2 separate regions of the Homo sapiens genome follow, and region 1 is linked to region 2. The links are contacts of gene promoters, found by promoter capture Hi-C in blood cells and fetal thymus (Javierre and others, 2016). All regions are on one chromosome and are shown on one strand. The core of a region is centred on a gene start or on the middle of the fragment in contact, and the rest is flanking DNA. Distances in the headings are between cores, read along the strand shown.

Region 1 (4,318 bases), core at 451-2,950, 260 kb before region 2:
TTCATGGCCTAAGGCACCCAAAGGCGACCTGTAAGATCACAGCAGGGCCCGCCTGCCACACACCACTTACCTAGGGCCTTACCTGAATGCTAAGGAAGTAGAATTAGAGGCATGAAAGACTAGGTAGAAAACAGTTGGATAAAAAAACGTGTTTGTTGAATGGAGTAAACTCTTGTGTGGACAGGCAGTGGGGCTTGCCCTGGGAACTCAAATCTGAGGCTCTGGAGTGACTCAGCCTCTCTGGCTCAAGTATTTTTATTTTTATTTCAAACATACATATTTTCTGAATTGATTAAAAGAACAAAACATCCTAAGTCCCCTACTCCCAAACTCTCCTGCTATGAGGAGGTTGAAGGTGGTCACTAGAATGGGGCTATTAGAAAGATTTTCTTTGCCACCAGATGTTCCGCTCCTGATCTTCCTTAAAGGCAATCCCTTGGCACTACTTGTTAGTGTCAGCAACAGTGATGCTTTGGTGCTTCGATCGACCCAAGTCTTTGAAGCAGGGGAGGGAAAGGTAGACAAGTGAGGAGGTGGCTAAATCATCCTGGCATTCCTGGTGTTGCAGAACCAACGTGTATCTAGAAGAGTACAGGGAAGATGACTTAGGAGTGGAAGAGAGCCTGGGGCACAAACGACAGCTAGGAGGAGGGACAGAGGGTCGGGGCGCCTGGGGAGGAGAACCTCTGTGGTTTCCTGTCCCTCTCACACTCGCAACCAGGAGTCTTGGGATGCTTGCTGTTCACCTGAAATTCTAGGCTCATCCAACAGTGCCACCCAATGGCCACATGGGTGCAGGGACGTGCCTAAGGAAGTGGAAACCAGATGGGAGGAGAAAAGAGCCTCACCAATTCAGAAAAAGAGAGACCTGAGTTTCTTTCTGCCTTGAGGATGTGGTATAGGGCTCTCCAGGGGTCTTTGGACCTGGGCAGAGCCATGCTTTAAGGGTTCTGCATGCCTCAAAGGAATTCCTCTCTTCTCTGAACTCTGGCCATTAGAATCTGCTGGGTTAAATCAGGGACTCTGTAACCTGCAGATCCCCAAGTCAGCCTGGAGAGATGGGGCATCTGTAGCCCCTGGCCCAGGCTTCACTTCCTGAGATGATGAGGGGCTGGCAATGCAGCCCCACCCCCACCCCCACCACCCAGGTTCATCTAGTCAGGGTCAGGGGCCGTGGCAGTTGTCAGGTCAGCTCTGTGGGACAGCGGGGTAGAGGGTGGAAGTCAGAATGTGGAGTGACTTCATAGGGGGCTGCGCATCACTTCCCTTCTCTTCCAGCTGCACCTTTCCAAAGTCCAGGAGCTTTCAGGAAATAAGAAAAAGTTCTTTCTTTAAGAAACATGGGACCCCAGAGTTAGATCATAAATAAGCCAGCATGGTTCCTAAGGAAAAAACAACAGAGCCTGGGAACAACCGAGCCAGGGTCTAACTGAAACTCTCCAGGCTATGTGAGAAGGATAATTCCTAACAGAGGCAGGTGCTATGTTCACTCCCATTCAACAGTTACAGAAACAAGCTTGGTGAGGCTGAGTGGCTTGCCTGTAGCCACATAGCCAGCAGCTGGGTGCAAAAGGCAGGAGCTGAGTCATGGTCTGTCCTCTAGCCCCGGCTCTAAACCAGGCATCGAGCCAAGCACTGTGGGGGACACACAGAGCGTGGCACAGAGGAGGTGCTTGATAAATACTAGTTCCTTCCCTAGAAGGATGGATAAGGAAGCAGAATTGTCAACAATTGACTCTAACCCAAGGCAGAATGAATTGGCTTAAATTGAAGAATAAAGTACAAAAGCACCTAAGAAGAGGAAAGCCTTCACCAAGGATGGAAATTGAGAGATGTCTTTACGGAGGAGCAGAATGTCCAAAGACCCCGAAAGAGGTGTTGAAGTGAAGCTTGGGCATTCTTCATGGGCAATCTGCATGCCTCACTGCCTGCTTCATTCATTCACTCCCTGGAGAAGGGCTCTCTGCAACAGCCTATCTCACACTGTGTGAGGAGGGATTTTGAGGATTTTGTTCTCTCCTGTACCCCCAGTGCCTGGAGCACACTGGGAGCTTAATACATATTTGTGAGCTAAATACCCAAATGGGTGAGTGGATTCCAGGAAAAAGGCACAACAGGGACAGACCAGAGAAGCAGCCTCACCTGTGCCAGGGACTCTGCGCCAGATGGAGTGCCAGGAGCGAGCAGTGTGGGAGGACATGGTAAAATGAGAGGTCGATGGGGGAAGACTGAGAAAGGCCTTGAAGTCATGCTGAGGAGTTCAGGTTGTCCTGTAGGTGATAGGGAGCCATTGAGAGTTCTGAGTGGGAGAGACAGGATCCAATCTATGTTTCAGAAAGATAACTTGGGAAATGTGGAGTATAGTGGAAAGGATGGGTCTAAGAGCAGAGGCAGGAAACTGGTAAGGAGGAGGTTGCTTCCCCTCAGAGATGTCAAGGGTCTGGACTCAGGCCATTTGTTCAATAGGTGAACGGTAGAAGGGATGAAGGCAGTGATGAAGAGAAAAGCACCAAAAGGGAGACATTACAGGGAGTGTAGGATTCAGTGATCAGCGAGATGGGAGAGGGAGAGAGAGTGTGGAGGGGCCGCCACAGGGCTTCAGAGAGGTGGTGTGCGAAGTGCATGTGCACCTGTGTGTGTGCACTCATGCATGTGTCGAGGGATGGAGCTCACATGGTGGGCAGTTCTGACATACATGGGGGTTTGTGGGGCTGCTCTGATGGGCCTGTTCCTTGTCAACAGGGCAGATGGCAATGCTGGCCTGATGCTCAGGAGAGAGGTAGAGGGTAGGGAATGGAGAGTTGAAAGTCATCATCATGGAGGGGTCATTGAAGCCAAGGGTGAGAATGAGATCCCCCAGGATGAGAATGTAGATGGAGTGAGAAGAGCAGAGAGGGCCTGGGTGCGGCGGCTCATGCCTGTAATCCCAGCATTTTGGGAGGCCAAAGCAGGAGGATTGCTTGAGGCCAGGAGTTTGAAACCAGCTTGTGCAACATAGTGAGACCCTGTCTCTACAAAAAATAATTTAAAAAAATTATCTGGGCATGATGGCACCCACCTGTAGTCTTAGCTACTTGGGAGCCTGAGGTGGGAGGATCACTTGAGTCCAAGAGTTCGAGGTTACAGTGAGGTATGATCGTGCCACTGCACTCCTGGCTGACATGTGAGTGACCTGTCAGTGTGTGAGAAAAGGCATTTTATCCTCTTTTAATTCCTCTCTGGAGAGTGGAGCCTAGAACCCTGACTGCCTCTGACCTTGCCGTCCAGTTAGGGTGTGGCCCTGGAATGTGGCTGCCTTCCCTCAGTTCTTTCCCTGTGGAATTGCTGCTCTGTGTGGGCTTCCTTTCCTTTCGGAGGTAGGATGAGGCAGCTTGGGTGGCCCTCAGATGGGAAAAAGACCCAGGAGAGCCACGAAAGGAACATAAGGAGAGGATGGAGAGGGTAGAGAGCCCTGCTCAGGTGCACCGAACATCATGACTTAGAGTCTAATTGGCAGCTCAAACATGGCACATCCCAAACCAAATTCTTGCTTCCTTCCCATGCCCCCACACCTGAACCCCCATCCCTCTGAGTAGCACCACTCCTCCCTCATCCAGTTGCTCAGGCCCAAACCCCGGGACACAGCCTTTGGCTAATCCAACAGGGATTCCTATGGCCTCTGCCTTCAGACCATCTTCTGAACCAGATGTCTTATCTCTTCCGGCAGGCGAAGCAAACCTGGCCCCAGATGCTCTACTCTCACCTGGGCTCCTCACAGGCCTCCCTGTTCCTATTCATGCCCTCGCAGAAGCCAGAGTGATTTTATAAACAACATAAATCGAGTTGTTTTATGCCTTTGTTCAAAGTCCAGTAGTTGTTCACTACTCTCAGAACTAAGCCTGAAGTCCTATGGCCCAGAAGGCTCTGTACCGTCTGTCCCCTGGACACCTTTCTGACTTCATTTCCAACCACCCTCTGCAGCTGCCTCCTTCCTGGTCTCCACACCCAAAGAATGCATCCCTGTGGCCTGGCTGTCCCCACTCCCTGGGAGACTGTACCCCCAAACATGCTCATGACTTGCTCTGCTTACACATTACTTTATGTAATTCCTTTATGGGGCCTCTGCTTACACATTACTTCCTAGGAGATGCCTGGCACACACTAGGAAAACGAATGAATGCATGTATGATAATACCGGTTTTAACCTTGTGCCTGGCACATAGGAAGTTCTTACAAGGTCTCCTGTCTCGGCTATGAAATCTGCTCCCACTCCCAAGGGTATGGCTGGTTCTTTGTAAAGGAGGCCCCTCCTACACATACAAGGTGGAAATCAGCTCTG
Region 2 (4,358 bases), core at 1,627-4,126:
ATTCAATAACATGGGGTTTCCTGATATTGTCTTATTCTCTATTTGTTTTTGTTCTTGTCCCTCCAAATGAATTCTAAATATCTGATGGTCAGAAACAGAATTAATTCTCAATAAAATTTTATAGGTATGGGTATAAGTGGGCACGTTGTTCTCTACCAAACCCCTAAACCCAGGAAACAGCCACCTCTAGTTGTCCGGCACTTGGAACAACCCTTCCCAGTGAAATGATGGAAAGAGGCACATTCAAGGAAAAATGTTCTGCATTAAAATGGTCACCTATTTTGCTGTGAACAATTTGTCTTGAGATAGTCTTCCCGATATTCCTAAGATTCCCCCTTATTTATCACTTCTCTCTCTGCAGATGTTCAGTCTACCTATCTCTTTCTTCTCCTTACTCTCTCTGCCTGTCCCAAATTTCTGGTTCCCCTAACTTGCAGGCCTCACATTACCTGAAACTATTCAAATATTTATAGAACACCTCTTATGTGCCAGACCCAATACCAGGCACTAAAAATACAGTCATGAGCAAGATCACCCAACATACACAGAGTAACACAGAACCTACAGAGCTTTCAGTCTAGTGGGGAAAACAATGAAAAACAAGGAATGACAGAGGGTGGAGGAATGCCTGTGGGCAATGGGAGCAGAGAGCAGGAGTAACTGTTCCTGCCTGGAGGGCTTTCTGGTGCTATGATGGGGGATGAGTAAGGAATTAAGTGAACAGGTGAGAGGATATTCTAGAGAGAGCTCGTGAGACAGAACTAGATTGATTTGTTTAAGCAACTAAAAGGAATTCCATATCCAGTGTTACCCAGTGTGAGGAGATCTTGGGGGTGGGGCCGGGGAAGAAATAGCCGGCTGAGAGTTTTAAGCTGGGGAGTCATGTGATTAAATTTGCATTTTAGAAGGCTCTCCTCCCTTCTTCCTGAGGACAGACTGAAGAAACATCCAAGGTGGTCTTGAAGGACACTGGGATCCTGTAACACAGGTAAAAGATAAAGACTAATGTAATTTCTATGGGGTTGGAGAGAGGTGGTCTGGTTTGAGAAATATTTAGGCAAAAGCATAACTGACAGGACTTGGTGGCTGATAATAGGTGGTGGTGTGGGAGAGAGAGTAGCTTAAGAGGACACCTGGTTTCTCATGAACGTGGCTGAAAGGCCAGTCAGGCCTTTCCTGGATGGTGGACATGGTGGGAGGAGCAGGCTTGAGTGTGGGGATGCCAAGTTAATCAAACTGAAGTTGGATATTGGATTTGAGGTGCCTGGGAGAGAGTGGAGCTCAAAGGAGAGATCATGGCATCTATATAGATTTGTGAATCTTTGGAACAGACAGATAGTAATTAGAGCCATCAGAATGGGTGAGATAATTAGGAAAATATGAGTTCAGCCAGAAGCCTCTCCTCAGCCCCACCACTTCAGGGACCTGTAAGCATGGCAGCAGCTCTGAGTGAGGGTCAGTGATTCCAGCCGAGGTGCAGAGACTTTTTAATAGCATTCCCTAAAGTGTAGTTACACTGAAAAATTGTTCCCCAAGAGAAACTACACACACACACACACACACACACACACACACACCACACAGTTCCATGCTCAGATAAGTTTGGAGAAATCTATATATTATTTCCCCTGCTTAGAGAATATTAAGGACTGACAAGTTCTGCAGTAAAGACCTTTTTACCTTCATTTAATTCAGTTTTCCCCACAAGACAGCCCTGGCTGGAGATTACTCTGGATCTGAATGTCTCAGGGTGAAGGAAGCGGGAGACAGCTAGCTTTCCCAGAGGCATGCCCGCAAGTCAGCACCGCAGAGTGCATCTATCTGTTCATTTATAAGATGAAAACATTGGGGCCCAGTGATTGCTTCCAAGTTTCATAGTTAGCTAGTGATACATTTGGGTTGTCACATACTCCTTTGACCCAATCTAAGAAAATTCCAGTGATGCAGCATAGTGAAACCAGAAACACATTTTTCAAAATATATTGATCACAGTGTTTCTCAAAAGGCCTTCTCTGTGACCTTGAATTTTAATCCTACCTCTGACATGTCTTAGTTGTATGAGCTTGGGCAAATTTTCTAACCTCTTTGAGCGCCTGTTTTCTTGTATATAAATAAGGATGTAACAGTAACCAGTAGGATTATTATTAGGTGTTACCATTAATAAACTGAGGCTGACAGATTGAGACTTGCTCAAGATCTCACAGCTAAAAGAGATAAAGCTGGAACTGAAACTCAGATCTTTGGCTCCAAATGTGGTGTTTCCTGTACTAACCAAATCATTTCTACCAGTGCCCCTGGGATTATGCCTTGGGGACTCACCTTAAGACAGTCTTGCTCTCGAGACAGAGAAGTCTGCAAATGGTGTCCAATTCAAGTCTAGAGACTGGCTGAAGCCAGACAGAGGGAGTATGAGGAGGGGGCAGAGAATCTTCAGAAAGACATTCCAAAGTCTCGGGCCTAGAAAATGTTTAGAAATATTGGTTCCTGTGTTCCCCTCCAGTCTGTCTACCTGAATGGGAAACTGGTGGTGGGGCCAGGCATACTTCTTTTTGAACAAATACACAGTTAATTCTGAGATGCCACCTTGATTGAGAAGCACTGTCCTTTTCTAAGCAAAAATCATTGCCAAATTACCCTAGAATCCACCACTGCTCACAGATCTGTGCCTGAACCAACTTGGTTTTGAAGTTTTCTTTTGTTTCACAAAACTAGTTTAGGGTGGGCTGTGAGAGGAAGCTTCTAAAAAGCCACTGGGAAAGTACTAAATCTCTGAGACTAAAGAGGGCGGACTCAGCCTCACTTCCTCCTTCTTCTCATCTGGGCTTCCTGTCGTCACAGCATGATCATATTTTTTCACCCTTCACTTCTCCTTTTACACAAATAGCCCCGGATATCTGTGTTACCAGCCTTGTCTCGGCCACCTCAAGGATAATCACTAAATTCTGCCGAAAGGACTGAGGAACGGTGCCTGGAAAAGGTAAGGTTGATGACGTTTTAACTTGGCTTGCTGTCTAATGTGGGGTAGGGCGTATTCTTAGGGGTCTCCATATACCTCTCTAGTAACCATAAAATCTCCGGCAACTTCTCTTTCACAAATATTTAGTGCACAAAGTAAAACAGATTAGCAAGATCCTAGTAACATCCCCAAAGGCAATCAGGCCAGAAATACTTTTACTTAATCAGGTTCCCATTATCTAAATCTCTGAGTCGAGGCATTCACATGCCTTAATTGCTTCAGAGCTTGAATTACTCTGTGTAGTAATTCCTGATGCCTGGAGCTTTCTATGCGAGATGACATTGGGGAGATTTCCTATGTGCTCTGGTCTTCAGAAAATTGGTCTTGTGATTTTAAAGTGAGGAAAGAACCCACAGCCAGAGCTGTCTTTAGAAAGACAGCTAGAAGACACAGTTCTTTTTCATTTGAGAAAATTTCAAAAGTAAATTTAGTGACTCCCACTGTGGTTCTTCAAAGCCACTAAATAGAAAGGTGGCTAAAAATCAAAACACCAGGATGTGCTCAGTAACTGTATTTTAAAAGGTGAAAGCTAGACATCTCTAAAGGATGCATAGATTGTTGGCTTTTAAGGAGCAGGAAGCACATTGGGATCCTCAGCATTTCCCCAAATTATCCTTGGTGTACAAAACATGACCACTGATAAATGTCACATGAAATGCACGTATAAAATGCAATCCCCAAAACTTGATACTGCAGTAATTTCCAATCATGTGCTGTAACTAATGACTGAGGTTGCATGGACTCAGCAAAGTGTTAGCAGAGCTTCGGTCCTGACTCTCTGTGACCACCATCGGAAACTCTATGTAAGAGCTTTCTTCTTCCAAGACCTGTGAGAATTTCACTTGATTATGCCCTGGAGCAGAAAGGAGAAAGTTCTCTTTGATTACACCCACCCATCTAAGTATGAGGATTGGGAACAGGGCAGAGGGCTCTAGATTTCCAAGAGGGGTGGGGACGGGGAGAGGGCTCTGGATTCCCAAAACACCTCAGAGTTTATTGAGCCTTGTATTAAAAAATAAAAAGCAGTCTTTTAAATAAATTCACTTAATAATCAAGTGGTAGGTGCCTCCTGAGGCCAGGCACTGTGCTTTGGGAATTGTGGGGGAGGGAGATGAAAAGGTAGAAGGAGAATATTTGTCTAGCAAACAGTCCTACTCTTAAGGAACTCCCATGGGAGATAAGAGATATCATACTATGCGTGTGCTTTGGAAGAAAGCTGAGAAAAAGCAAACTCCCAGCTGCTGGACAAACAAAGAGGTTTTGCTTTCTCAATCTTGAGGAGAATCTGTACTATTTTGAAATTGTGGTTGAATGGGAGCAAAGACTGAACTGAAACATTATT

The links. The method cuts DNA at HindIII sites, captures the fragments that hold promoters and counts their contacts. A CHiCAGO score of 5 or more calls a contact.
Region 1: a fragment that was not itself captured here is called in contact with the fragment with the promoter of CD53 in region 2 in 1 of 17 cell types (total CD8 T cells); the score reaches 5.6 in total CD8 T cells.

The regions. Positions count from the first base shown.
Region 1 is chr1:110,615,164-110,619,481 of GRCh38, forward strand. It overlaps a transcript of KCNA2 not described here. Among named protein-coding and RNA genes, the nearest start is that of KCNA2, 11 kb to the left of the region's middle. The HindIII fragment of the contact is 373 bases long and covers 1,515-1,887 here.
Region 2 is chr1:110,870,272-110,874,629 of GRCh38, forward strand. CD53 (CD53 molecule) reads left to right here and starts at 2,877. Exons shown (of 8, transcript NM_000560.4): 1 at 2,877-2,977. RefSeq lists enhancers at 2,078-2,127, 2,728-2,837, 4,350-4,358. The HindIII fragment of the contact is 4,495 bases long and covers 2,735-4,358 here.